Linked DNA regions of Homo sapiens: region 1 is linked to region 2. Evidence: promoter capture Hi-C in 16 types of primary human blood cells and fetal thymus (Javierre and others, 2016). All regions are on one chromosome and are shown on one strand. Each heading gives the region's core, a stretch centred on a gene start or on the middle of the fragment in contact. The rest is flanking DNA. Distances are from core to core; before and after follow the strand shown.

Region 1 (7,228 bases), core at 1,962-4,461, 270 kb after region 2:
GAAGTCAGGAGTTTGAGACCAGCCTGGCCAACATAGTGAAACCCCGTCTCTACTAAGTATACAAAAAATTAGCTGGGCATGGTGGCGCATGCCTGTAGTCCCAGCTACTTGGGAGGCTGAGGCAGGAGAATCGCTTGAACCTGGGAGGCGGAGGTTGCAGTGAGCCGAGATCGCGCCCTCGCACTCCAGCCGGGGCATCAAGAGCAAAACTCCATCTCAAAAAAAAAAAAAAAAAAAAAAAAAAAAAGAAAAGAAACAGGAACAGAATTGGTTGGAAAATATAGGTTTGGGTTTTTAAAAATCTTTTTACTTAGTTACTTAAAATTTGAAAATTCAAATGGCAAGGTGAAATCTAGTTATTACTTAGTGAAATAACTTTCTTACTTTTTTAGGGCTAATGTTAGCTCTAAGTATCTGTTTATAGTTGGACTAGTTCAGGGTCAATGGAAGTTTTAAAAAGAGGTGTGGGAATGGTATTAAAGGCATTAAGATATTCAAACCCATTTCTGCCTTGACTGACTCCACTACTTCTACTCCCTCATCACGCCTTTGAAAAAGGAAAATATAGTTTATTTCTCTTACCTTTGCTCGAGGCCTAATGCTTACCTTCTTATTAGCTCTCACCTAAATATCAGTAGTATACTTCTATAAGTAATTGGATTGGAACAGCTTTTTGAAGATTTTGTTGCTGGCTAATATAAATAATACACTTAATCAAAATTATTCTTAAAAACTAAATTTAGGTATACATGATTGGCTTCTCTGGGTTTTATAACATAAAGAATGTGAGCAAGAGAACCAGTTCTAAATCCCAGTATAAAATGCCAATACTCCAATGCCAAACCATTGGTTTGCCTCCAAAAACAGGTGGTTATAGGGTTCTTGTATTGCTGGGTGACTGCATAAAATATCTTTTGACAAAGAATTTGATATACTGATCTCATAATTACACCTAAGTATAGCCTTTACTTTAATGAACATAATCTATTTTTACCCAGTGCAAATATTCACATTGATATACTAGGCTTTAAAGTGTGGAAAAGAATAGGACATACATGTTTTTAAAACCAAATGGAAACCTAAAGGGAAAGGGAAATTTTCTTTTTGTTCATTCAATTTTAACAGAAATAACAGCTTAAGATTTTTTTATTTAATACTTATATTATTTTTCAAGGAAAAGACCATTTCAGGCATGAAGAATATCATTGCTGAGATGGAACAGGCATCAAGGTAAATCAGTCGTGCAACAAATATATGAGCTCTTACTGGGGGGCCAAGTACCATGTTAGGTACAAAGATAGTAAGAAACAAGGGGCTTAATGATACGTGTAAGGTGCTAACTCTCTCATCAAAGGAGGCCTAAGTCTGTCTAAGGAACTAAAAGAGGGGATGGTGTTTGCCAAGTAAAATAAGGGGAAGGGAAGGGCATTTAAAGTAGAAAGAATAGCAAAGAACCACAGATCATGTTGACAAGCCTCTTGACCTACAAGTGGGTGAGTGTTGTTGAAACCTAGAGTGTAAGGGGAGAAGTGAAGGGAGGAGACTAAATAGGCAGGCAGAGGCTTGTGTAACAGACAAATGAGTATTGGTTATATCCTTTGGGCAATAAGAAATCATTAAAGAATTCTGAGGAGAATTTTGTGTTAGAAAGATACCTAAGCAGAAGAGGTGGTGATAAATTGGGGTTTAGGAGTTGTGGGACAGAAGGAGTGAAATGCTTTTGTATGAGGGAGAGACACCAGGAAAATGCCAAGTTTCTGGCCAGGGACAAATACTGAACATGAAGAAAGTATGAGGAGAAAAAATGATTTTACCTCTGAATTTGAAGAACCTTTGGGACCTTATTGTAGACATGTCTAGTAAGCAGTTAAATATAAGTCTGGAGTATAACAGAGGGTCTAAAACTGGAGATAATTATTTTGGAGTCATTGGATCTAGATGGGGTTGGGAACCATGGATATGAATAGAGTTTGTCTGAGAGAAGGGTTAGAGTGAGAATAATTGGGAGGCTAGGGCTTGAGCCCTGAAAAGCATTAATTTTTAAGTGGGCAGAGGAAGAGGAATCTGTAAAGGAGACTAAGCCATAACAGAAGTAGGATGAAAGCCTTCCTAATACTTGATGTAAGAAGTTTTGAAATATTTGGCAAATCATTGACTATTATGTATACTTTGTATCCTTTTCATAGCGAAATGATGGCAACATTGAGAAACTCTAATGCACTGTCTTTGCAGTATTTATTCCTATAAATTCAAACGTGTTTAAAATCTCTTCAAATGTTTTCATACTAACTGTCCATCTTCTGTCTTGTGAGAATTTGTTGCTCTGTTTCAGTAAAATGTCTCTTCTTATGTACTCTTTGATTTGTGGAATAGACAGTGTACTGAGGCCCTAATTGTGTGTGAACAAGACGTTTCCAGAATGCGTCGGCAATTGGATGAGACAAATGATGAGCTGGCCCAGATCGCCAGGGAAAGAGATATCTTGGCTCATGACAATGACAATCTCCAGGAACAGTTTGCTAAAGCTAAACAAGAAAACCAGGTACACTTGTTCCTAGAATCATTTTCTCCAAGAAAAAAAAATATGAATTTCTTGTGAGGAACAGCCCTCATTTTATTTTATAGAAGAGCTCAGACACTGGAACTAGCCTTTTCTTTTTTTTAAAAAATAACAAAATAGGCCACATAATTTTTAAATGGAATTCTCAGACACAAAGGGTTAAATATTAAAGAAAAGAGAGAACAGGGCTATATTTGTATTAAAGCTTAGTACTTCCTTGCTGAAGGATAAATATTTGAATAATCAAAAAATGAGAATAAAAACCTTGAGAAACCTTAAAGAAAAGAATAGGTGTTTTTTTTTTAAAAAAATGGACTACATATTATTCTGTTTTAAGTATGAATGTATGGACTGTGCCTTGTTTTTTGGTTCTCATTAGCACTGTGATTCTTTTTAGGAAAGTTCCTCTTATAATTACTCTTTCTCCCTAAGGCAATATATTTAAGTCTAATCTGCAGTTCTCATTTCCAATAACATTTATTTTAACGTGAACATTTAAAAATCCTATTTGGAAAATTTCTTCCCTTCTCAAAATTTTTAAGACCAAATGGTTTTCCCCACTTTGTATCACTTTCAGTGTGTTTAGTTTGCATCCTGAAAGTCTGTGTTCTTTAACTGTTGAAGATTATTAATTTACTTAAACAGCTATAAAGCTGTAATACTTTGTTAATCATAAAAAATTATCTGAGATGTTAAAGTATTTTGTTTAAAAGTAAATGAATAATGGGATCCTGGAATAGAAAAAGGACATTATGTAAAAAAGGAAAGAAATCTGAATAAAGTATGGACTTCAGATAATAATGTGTCAATATTGGCTTATTAATTGTGACATATGCACCATACTAATGTAAAATGTTAACAATAGAGGTGCCCTTTATAATGTCTTCACAACTTTTCTGTAAATCTAAAACTATTCTAAAAGTTTATTTAAAAAATTAATGAATAGCAATAAAAACCAAAACATGGGAATTTGTAAGGTTTGCCTTTGTGTACTCTTTACAGCTAGAGCATATGGGCTAAAGGTGGATATATCTTATTTATGAAAACCTAGAAATTTAGTTTCTATTTTTTTGATTGGTTTAGAAATAGAAGCTTATTATAGAAAGTCTTTTTTCTAAACAAAAAGTTAAGAGTTTAGAAAAGCCCCCATGTTTTTGATACTCAGTTACTGTTATATTTGACATATTTTTTTAATTGCTATACAGTGCACTTAAAAATTTTAACACTATTTTTATACACATTTTCTAATGTAGTGGGATAAAATCACCTATCACTTTAGATCATGCTTTTTTCTACATGAAGAGGCAGTAGAGTCGAGTAAGATTCACATGGGTTGAATCTTGCTCTCTGCGTGTGTGATCATATAAACCAACTTCTCTGAGTCTCTGTAGCATCTGTAAAAATGGTTAATAAGTGAGACTATACCTGGAAAGCACTTACTGTACTGTCCAGTATATCACTCAATAAATATTTTATAGCTATTATTAGCTTACTATAATATTGTAAGCATTTTCCTGCCTTGTTCAAACTTTGTAAACATTTTTTATAATCAGAAGAAAACTGTTGTCATAACAATTTACATATGCTCAAAAGTAGTTTTTTCTTCGTTATGGTCATAGGCCCAAGGTAGAAGAGAGGTCTCTCTCTGTGGACCACAGGTTAAGAACCAGTATTGCAGAAGACGAGAAAGTGGAAACTTAAAAAAAATTTATCCTTGATACCACAATTTTTAACAAATTGGGATAATGAGGTATTTTTGTGTTTTAGCACGATTTTTTTTTCACTTAACATAGGCAAATATTTCCCTGTATTATTAAAAATCATTCCAAACATTTCTCACAGGTATGTAATATTCCATTATGTGGTTATGCCACTATGTAGATATACTATTATTTACTGCATGATTCACTTAATGTGAATAAATATTGTCACTGTAACAAATGCCTTAATGACAGCATCTCATTAAATTTTATTAGATTTCATTTCAGAGTGAATCACAGATTATCAGGTTTCTTTTTAATTATTATTTATTTATTTATTTATTTATTTATTGTAGAGTTGGGTTCCCACTATGTTGTTCAGGCTGGTCTCAAACTCTTAGGCTCAAGTGATCCTCCCAAAGTGCCAGGATTACAGGAAAAACACCCAGCTGAGGTTTCTTTTTTAAATTAAAAAAATGTAAATAGACATTTTCAAATATAATGAATCCCCATGTGCCATTTCCCACCTTCAAAAATAATCAACATTTTTGTCTTTCTTGTTTTTATGAGCATTTAAAAATTGTCTCTTGATACATCACCAGATTCCTGATCACAGATTTGCTTTCTGCAAATCTACATTTACTCCAGTAGTACATGGAAATGCCCATTCTTTACCATAGCTGAATAGCTTTAAATCTTTATTAATTTGATAAGCAGAATAGTAATGTGTTGTTTTAATTAGCATATCTTCAGTTGCTAGTAGAGTTTTTTTCAGGTCTTACCTACTTATGCTTCCTTTTTTGAATTGCTTATTTGGGTCATTTGCCCACTTGCTATTGGGCTTATGTGTTTTCTTTTTTTATATGAGTTTATATATTAGGTATGTTAATTTTATTTGTTCCAAGTGTTTAAAAATTTGTTTATGGTATTTTTGAGATATAGAAATTTTTTATTTTTCATAGTCAAATATACCTATCTTTTTTTCGTAGGCACTGTCCAAAAAATTGAATGACACTCATAATGAACTTAATGACATAAAACAGAAGGTTCAAGATACTAATTTGGAGGTTAACAAGCTGAAGAATATATTAAAGTCTGAAGTATGTATTTTTTTTTTCTTTTTGCTCATGATACTTAGTTTTCACTAGAGTTAATTTAGAAGTTGGTATACTCAGAACGACAGGTGAATCAAAGCTTTCTTTAATACATAGTATATTTTAGTTTTGACAATGGTGGGTTAACTACATATTTAGAATGTTCAGAAAGATGCCTGGAGAATATGCCCCTTTTGTTTTGCAACTCTGCCACTCTAGACAAGCAGAATCTTCCTAACTGGATGATGGACAAAGGGCTAAAATCAATTTGACCTCGCTTATAATTAATTGAAAGTGGTGGGGTTTCCAGTTATAAACCTCTGACAAAAGAGGTTCCACCTGATTATGTAGCAGATCAGAATTGGTTACCCTGTTATGGGACCATCTATTTTTTTTAGGACCACAAGGCAGATGGTTCTCCTCACACTTCTCTGTTAGCAATCATTTGACCAGGCACATGTACATGACATCAGATGACTCCAATAAGTGTGGTGCATGTGTGGCAACTCAGGAATAAACAGGCAGCTTTACTGAGGATTTTAGATATGTCTATTAGGTAAAATATTATCTAAAATTGAGGGAGGATGTTCCCATTAATGGTTTGAGTGGTATGTAGGTAACACTATACCTATTATAATAATCAATCCACCTATACTATTTTATCATTTCATGTCAGTCCACAAACATATCTTGAACATTTATTTATGGTATGCATAGTACTGTTAAGGGCTTTGAGACAGAAGAGATTCTAAGGATTTCTAAATTGCAATCCTTGCTTTCAGGCAGCAAGCAGCCTGTGTAGGAAAAGCACGTGGTTTCCTACACTTCCTGATTTTAAGGTTCCAGCAATGTAATACCATAAATGAACAAAAGGCTTTTTATTTATGCAGGCTACTCAGCCTCTCTGATTCTTCCCATCTGTAATCGGGAAGAACACCCAAGTAAGTGAGATAATTTAAAACACCTAGCACAGTGAGCCATCTGAATCTATTCTAGAATAGGTCAGAAATAAATAAATGAATATCCAGAGCAACACTTTTTTTTTTTTTTGAGACAGGCTCACTGTATTGCCAGGCTGGAGTGCAGTGGTGCAATCGTGGCTCACTGCAACCTTTGCCTCCCATGTTCAAGCGATTCTCCTGCCTCCTGAGTAGGTGGGGTTACAGGTGCATGCAACCATGCCCGGCTAATTTTTGTATTTTTAGTAGAGACGGGGTTTCGCCATGTTAGCCAGTCTGGTCTCGAACTTCTGACCTGAAGTGATCCACCTGTCTCGGCCTCCCAAAGTGCTGGGATTACAGGCATGAGCCACTGCACTCACCCCAGAGCAACATTTAACATAGTAAGCTTTCAGCCAGTGTTAAACACTTCCCTTTATCTCCCTTGTCTGTTAGTAACATTACCTGAAATTCCACCATTAGGGATTATAACTTTTAGATTCTAGAATTATATTTTCAGACATCACACATCAAGCTTCTTAGGCTCAAGTGATCCTCCCACCTCGGCCTTCCGAAGTGCTGGGGATTTTAGCATCCTAGTATGAATTTGTTTATGAGATTGCATAACACTGGATGGATGCAGGCCCGGAGAGAATGAACCACGGATCCATTTTGATAGGGATAGACCATCAAGAAGTGTGGAGTACTTCATTCATTCACTCATTCATGCAGCGTGCTAGGTGCTGGAGTGCCAGAGATGAAAAATGGAGAGGAAACAGAATGACTGCCAGGCAGTGGGAACAACATGAGCAAAGGTGTAGGGGAAAAAGTAGGTCCTGTAGGTAGAGTAGTGTGTACAAGTGGATGATAAAGGAGAGGTAAGAAAGACCTTCTTTGAACCCTATTTTCAGAAGCTTTTGTTAGAACTAAAACATA
Region 2 (7,293 bases), core at 1,782-4,281:
TTTACAGATGAAAAGCTAATGAGATTTGCTTTAAAATATCTAGTAGGTGGGGGCCAGGGGCGATGGATCACGCCTGTAATCCCAGCACTTTGGGAGGCCGAGGCGGGCGGATCACCTGAGGTCGGGAGTTCGAGACCAGCCTGACCAACATGGAGTAACCCCGTCTCTACTAAAAATACACAACTAGCCGGATGTGGTGGTGCATGCCTGTAATCCTAGCTACTCGGAGGCTGAGGCAGGAGAATCGCTTGAACCAGGGAGGTGGAGGTTGCAGTGAGCCGAGATCGCGCCATTGCCCTAAGTTTCTTGTTGTCTGGGCAACAAGAGGGAAACTCCGTCTCAAAAAAAAAAAAAAAATGTATATATATATTTGTGTATATATTTGTATATATATATATTTATATATATGTGTGTATATATATTTGTATATATATATATATACACACACTTCTAGTAGGTGGGATGAAACCAAGCAGGTCATGTGCTAACAATGGTTGAAGGCAGGTAATTAATACATAAAGGCTCATTATACTCAGTTCTCTATTTTCTAGAGACAGCTGAACATTAGCAAGGAAAAAAGTACCCTATACATCAAAAATTCCTGTCAAAAGTACAGAAATTTGTGTTCCCCTACATCACCCATAATCCTTATTTTCTCATTCATCTGGTTTAACAATAATTCAATTCTCCAAACCAATTAACTTCCTCCAATAGACCTAAAACTGAAATACAAGACTATCTTTGTTGTCTTTTAATTCTACTCATAAGCTAGTCAAACGCTAGGTGAGAAAACGATCCAGGCTTCCAATTTATAATTAGTAAACTTATTTTAACTTCAAGACAACATATCTGTTTTGAGTCAGACTGATGAACTAGCACTAGTTTTTTTAATTTACCTTACTCTCCGCCTCGTATTTAAGTTTGGTGGGTAGTGTACGAACGTGTAATGTAACAGATGTTGTTCACTCCCAGGAAGTCAACTCTTTCCATCATGAGTAACAGAACTCAATCGAATGTGACACACAGAAATGTCTCAAAAATCTCTAGGTAAGTAACTCGCATATACCCTTATCCTCCCTCCCCAAAGCATTGCAGGTGGTTAGAAAGGAGCGACCTCGGTTGGTTGGTTTCTTCTTCTTCCCTTCCTTTCTTAGGGGAAGGCTAGAGAGCAAAGAAACGACAAAAAAAAACAGGCCGGAAGAAGGAAAGCGAAAAGCATGAGGGCTGGACAATCAGCCCTTAAATAAACGAAAACTGTATCCAAATCAGATTAAGTTGAGAGACAGCGAACTGCTAAACACCTCCCCATAACTCTAACGTACCTGAAACCGCGAGTAGAGAAACCCGGCCGTACATCACATTCAAGCTCCCTTCCCTCCCAAAGTACTCACAGGTATAAGAGGCATAAAAAGAACTTCCCCACCCTCGCCAAGAGTAGCGCGGAAAAAAACTCACACTGGCCTGGGCCACGCTGGCGAAGCCGCCTGACCCTCCCCGCGCGACCAGGAACCCTCAAATGACTACCCCGCTCCTCAGGCCGGGGAAGGGGTGCCGGGGGAGCGAGGCTCGACTGGGAGGACCCGCCCGCCGTCGAGGCCCTACGTGCCCACCCGGCCCGGGGGCTTGGGCCCGCTCCGCACACTCTGGGCCCAGGCCTGGTACCCCGCGAAGCTCATCGCGAGCCCAGACCCCGGTCCGACGCCGCGCCCGGCGAGACCCGCACACTCCACTGAGCCACGGCGGCCGCCGCCGTACGGACCCAACCCCTATCTACCTGTCTTCGCTCTTGTTTTTCTGTTTCTTCCCCATTGCTTGTCAATGGCGCTCGTGGCCCCAGCCCCTCTATTCGGTCTCTCACAGACCCACTGTCTCCCGGCTGACTTTGGTCTCCGCTCAGCTCTTTTCCCCTCGTGCTGCCGCCGCTCGCACCCGGCTCTCCACAGACCCGCGCACTGGAACAGGACACATATGGTGTGAGTTCTCAGTGCGCAAGCGCATCGCCCAGCCGCCTCGGCGTGAGGACGCAGGGCGCGGCTCATCGAGAGCTGCGCTTCGGGTAGAGCGTCTCCGGTTGACCGGCCGACCAGGCAGCAGCCCGAGCGCCCCCTGCCCTCAAGCGTCCGCCACGAGCCGACACCCGCGGGTTTTCCACGTTCTAGAACCCGGAGGTGGACAATGAAGCTGTCAATTTCGCCACCTCACCCCTCTCCCAACGGGGAACGCACGCTTCGGTTCAGGAGTGGGCTTTGGGCTTCCCTTTATATCTTTGTATTCTCAGCCGCACGAAGTTCAGTAAAGAACCACAACGAACCAATAGAGTCCTCTGGGGGTTTGCGAGAGAGATAAATTCAGGACAAAATAGGGACCTCTCAGTAACATCCATGCATTATGCATTATGTACAGTCACTGAATAAAACAGAACAGGACACAGCCGATCAATTCCCTAACATAGGTCTTCAGCTTCACCCTCAAAGCGAGGGCGAGTTCTAAAAATTCCTGTGTTTCGAAGAGTCAAGAGGGGACCTACAGGGGTGGTGGAAAATGTTCTATATCTGGATCTGGCCGGTGATATTTTGGGTTTTAACTATGCAAAAGTTAATTGTGCTGTATATGTTTATGCCTCGACTTTAGGAAAAATGTTAACAAAAGAAAACAAAAAAAAGAAAAATGTTCATTCAACACTAACAGAATGGAAACGCAGTTCAAGCGTCACGGCTGAGCGAGAGCACAGCTGTCTCATTTCCAGTCTGGCGCACTGGACCGTGAATACTGAAGCACGCTCCTGAGAAAGTCCGGCCACGACAGCCTGCGCACTAAGAAACTGCAACTCCCACAATGCTTTGCGGCCTTCCAGTTCGGCCGTGTACCCGGAGGAAAGCAAGGGTCGGACACCTTGGGTTCCGGGCTGCTGGGCGGGAGGCGCACGCGCAGAACTGTTCGCCACCCGACCGCCCGCCCCTTCCTCTGGCGTCCAAGGTGATATCGCGCGAGGTTCGCAGCCAATAAGGAGGCGGATGTGACGGCCCGTTTGCAGCCGCCGGCAGCTACTGCAAGGCAAAAGCCGGAGTGGACGTGTCTTTTGAAACTGCTGCTCTTTCACTTCTCAGGCGTCACCGAGAGCTCAGGTGAGGCAGAGGGTAGTGAGAAGAATCCGACCACCACGTCCGGGTGCTGGTGAACATTCTGCTGCTCCACATCCGGAGCGGAGGAGGGGCGCGGCCCCAGCACCGGTGTCGGTGTCCTGGCAGAGGCTCTTGCGCAAGCGCACCAGGAGGCGTCGAAGTTGGGGCCACCGGGACTGTGCTTTCCTCTGTTTCCCCGGGCGCAGGGAGTGGCCGGCTTGCCATTGGGGAGGTACCTGGGGTTCAGTTAAGGACCAGGCCCCTTGATTGTTTTGGCGGATACCTGTAAGGGTGTCCAGGAAATGACTAGGGAATTTGAGGACGCGCTGTGTCCCGTCCCACCCTTCCAGCGGAGCTGTAAAAAGGAAGAATCAGAGGCTGTGGTTTGAAAAATGAAAAGCTAACGAGGGGTTGCATCGTCTCTTTACCCCATTCTCAATGCTCTGACCACCAACACCTACACCCAGAATAGCTCTTCTTAATCTCGTCTTTTTCCAGTTATCCCATAATTAAATTCTGGGCTCATTCTATAAAGTTCCAGGGTAGGCATTCTCTGTGCTTATCCCTGGAGCACAGCTTCCAACGTTCAATTCAGTATCTTATTATCTTCTCCTTCCAGCCCCCTCACTGAGGGTCACAGTCCTACTGACATTTTTCTTGGGCGATAGGGAGCGTGGAAATCTTTGCTGTGTTTGAAATACAGCACCTTTCCAATTTTATAGCACTCACGAGGAGCTTACAATTTGGTTTTTTAGACTCAAATACTTTTGAAACTTAACAGTGTAGTAATTTGAACAGAAGTCAGGCACGTGTTCATTCAACGTTAAATACATGTTTATTGAGTACCTGCTGTGTTCTATGGAGATACAAAGATGAAATCAAGTATGCTTTTCAAATCCTTTTCCTGTAAAGAAAAAGGAATCAGAATTGAAGTTTGCAAGAATATTTCTCTTCAGCTCAACGTTTATAGAGGGCCTGTGTGGGTCAGAATCTGTGTCAGAAGCTGAGTGAATGAATTCACAGTTTGTTGTGAAGTTTGGGGTGCTTCAGTATTATTTGCAAATGTATCATAGTTCATTGATATGCAACAGCCTCCTGCTTTGATAGGCAAATTATAAATCATTTCTGCAGTAATAACCCTGAGATACACATAAACTTGCCCTCTAATTGTTGGTATAAAATTTCTCGTACAAAATACTCCATTTCTTTTAAAAGAAGTAAAATTTTGGCCGGGCGCGGCTGGCTCACGCCTGTAATCTCAGCACTTTGGGAGGCCGAGGCGGGCGGATCACGAGGTCAGGAGATCGTAGCCATCCTGGCTAACACGGTGAAACCCCGTCTGTACTAAAAATACAAAAAGAAATTAGCCGGGCGTGGTGGCGGGCGCCTGTAGTCCCGGCTACTCGGGAGGCTGAGGCAGGAGAATGGCGTGAACCCAGGAGGCGGAGCTAGCAGTGAGCGGAGATGCGCCACTGCACTCCAGCCTGGGCGACAGAGCGAGACTCCGTCTCAAAAAAAAAAGTAAAATTTTGTACTAATTGCTAGTACAAAATACTCCATTTCTTTTAAAATATATAGTCATGTGCCACATAAGGACATTTCAGTTTTATGAGATTGTAATACTGTATTTATCGTACCTTTTCTATGTTTAGATACACAAATGCCATTATGTTACAGTTGTCTGCAGTATTCAGTACAGTAACATGCTGTACAGATTTGTAGCCTAGGAGTAATAGGCTGTATGGCATAGCCTAGGTGTGTAGCAGGCTGTACCATCTGGGTTTGTGTAAATAGTCTATAATGTTTGAAACAATATCAAAATCACCTAATGATGCATTTCTCAGAATGTATTCTCATTGTTTTGTGGGTTTTTGGTTTTTGGTTTTTGAGACAGGGTCTGGCTCTGTTGCCCAGGGTGGGGTGCAAGTGGTGCGTTCTCAGCCCACTGCAACCTCTGCCTCCTGGGCTCAAGGTATCCTCCTCCCACTTCAGCCTCCCTAGTAGCGGGGACTACAGGCACACACCACCGGGCCTGGCCAATTTTTCTATTTTTAGTAGAGACAGGGTTCCATCATGTTTCCCAGGCTGGTCTCAAACATCTGAACTCAAGTGATCTGCCCACCTTGGCCTCCCAAAGTGCTGGGATTACAGGCGTGAGCCATAGCACCCAGCCTAGAATATATTCCCATTGTTAAGTGATGCATGACTAATTGAGATAGGTCTTCCTTTCTAATCTGAATTAGTTCTATTTTGAAACTCTGATTTTACACAGAGGAGTGATGTTGGAAAAAAACCCAAAATTTAGAAAAGTATTTGGAGTGTTTTACATCAAAGTTAACACTGTCAGTAAATGGAAACCAGTATTAATTTTTGTGACCTCATAGACTTTTTTGTTAGGTAATGGGAGAACAGGAATGGACATTAATGCTCAGGGAACACCAGGCACTCTTCTTTACATAAATGGTAATGAGACGTCTTAGGAGTTAAATGAAACTCATTTGGGCAGCAGCCATGAAAAAAATCTGTGTTTTGCTCAACTGTACTCTGTGTTTAAGTAAAGTTTAATATATATATTTATGTGTAAAACCTCAGTAGGTATACCTTCCTATTGTTCGCAGTTGTTTCTGATTTCTCTTTCCCATTGGTAAAGAACACTGATTGTCAGTATATATCACTAGGTATAACTTCACAACTCATTTCTCTGTGGTTTGGTGATGGTCTTAAAGACTTGTCTTGGCTTTAGTATAGTAAAACATATGCTAAATCAGAAGCACCCTAAATTTGCTGTAAGTAGTTTTTGAGTGGTGTGACTAGAACCTACTGAGAATTAAATTTAAAAACACATAAAAATTGTTAAGCCCAGCATCAAGTGCTTGGATGTCGTTAGAATACTCCATAGAGTACACATTATACACTTGCCAGAATTTTTGAAAATGGTAGAGAAAACCTTGCTTATTGTTTGCATTTTTTAAAATGTATTTTGTAAATCTTCTCCCCAGCACCCAGGCTGAACTCTGTACCATTTGGAAGAATGGAAGCTGATGCATCTGTTGACATGTTTTCCAAAGTCCTGGAGCATCAGCTGCTTCAGACTACCAAACTGGTGGAAGAACATTTGGATTCTGAAATTCAAAAACTGGATCAGATGGATGAGGATGAATTGGAACGCCTTAAAGAAAAGAGACTCCAGGCACTAAGGAAAGCTCAACAGCAGAAACAAGTAACCTCTCTGCCCTGCTTTCTGAAATTGCTATAACAGTATGCGCCTAACAACTTATATATACATGTGCTGTAGTAGTTACATTTCGTTCTTTGTGTTTAGGGTTTTTAAAATTCAGAATACCTATTACTGTTAAAAATTTGCCCAGAAAAAAATATGTTTTAAAGACATTCAAAATTAGCCCAATCTCTATATTAATCCACAGTCGAGTAAAAGAAAGATCTGCCCAAGATCGTTTTTCTGAGCTTGGATTTGTTTGGTTGAATGGAGGGCTAGGGAGTCATTGGTTTCCATTTCAGGTAATATTAAAGCCGATTTAGCTATTTTCAAAGCAAACGAGATAAGACAGATGAGATAAGAGCAATTAAGTCAATTTATGTTGAAAAATGTATTTCAGGCATTTCCAATGAAATAATTATGTGGCATATTCAAAAGAATGCATGCTTTGTAACAAAGGTGGCCACAGCTCTATCGTTGTTGCCTCTTAGAATGTTTGTGTAGAATAAACGCAGAGTTGTAAACTCTGACTGAAACCAGTGGATTAAATTCTGTAAATTGAAATTTTTTTTTCTGCTTTTTGAGATGGAGTCTCGCTGTGACACCCTGGCTGGAGTACAGTGGTGTCATCTCAACTCACTGCAACCTCCGCTTCCCGGCTTCAAGCAATTATTCTGCCTCAGCCACCCGAGTAGCTGGGACTACAGGCGCACACCACCATGCCTGGCTAAGTTTTGTATTTTTAGTAGAGATGGGGTTTCGCCATGTTGGCTAGGCTGCCCTTGAACTTCTGACCTCAAGTGATCCGCCCACCTTAGCCTGCCAAAGTGATGGGATTACAAGCGTGAGCTACCGCACCTGGCCAAATTGAATTTTGATTAAAACATTTTTTCCACTGGGTTACATGGAAATACTTTATCACCAACTCTGGTTCCTTTTCAGTTGACTGTGACT

Evidence for each region. The method cuts DNA at HindIII sites, captures the fragments that hold promoters and counts their contacts. A CHiCAGO score of 5 or more calls a contact.
Region 1: a contact is called between a fragment that was not itself captured here and the fragment with the promoter of TXNDC9 in region 2, in 1 of 17 cell types (erythroblasts). The highest score is 5.2, in erythroblasts.

What each region holds. Positions count from the first base shown.
Region 1 is chr2:99,067,020-99,074,247 of GRCh38, reverse strand. TSGA10 (testis specific 10) reads left to right here. Exons shown (of 21, transcript NM_025244.4): 13 at 1,175-1,230; 14 at 2,374-2,542; 15 at 5,250-5,360. Among named protein-coding and RNA genes, the nearest start is that of C2orf15, 71 kb to the left of the region's middle. The HindIII fragment of the contact is 887 bases long and covers 2,768-3,654 here.
Region 2 is chr2:99,332,071-99,339,363 of GRCh38, reverse strand. TXNDC9 (thioredoxin domain containing 9) reads left to right here and starts at 3,031. Exons shown (of 5, transcript NM_005783.4): 1 at 3,031-3,125; 2 at 6,122-6,342. The coding sequence starts at 6,154. It overlaps EIF5B (eukaryotic translation initiation factor 5B), which reads right to left and starts at 1,975. Exons shown (of 24, transcript NM_015904.4): 1 at 1,775-1,975. The coding sequence starts at 1,809. RefSeq lists enhancers at 1,777-1,886, 1,593-2,094, 2,107-2,216, 2,237-2,316, 2,327-2,376 and 5 more and a silencer at 1,547-1,706. The HindIII fragment of the contact is 22,802 bases long and covers 1-7,293 here.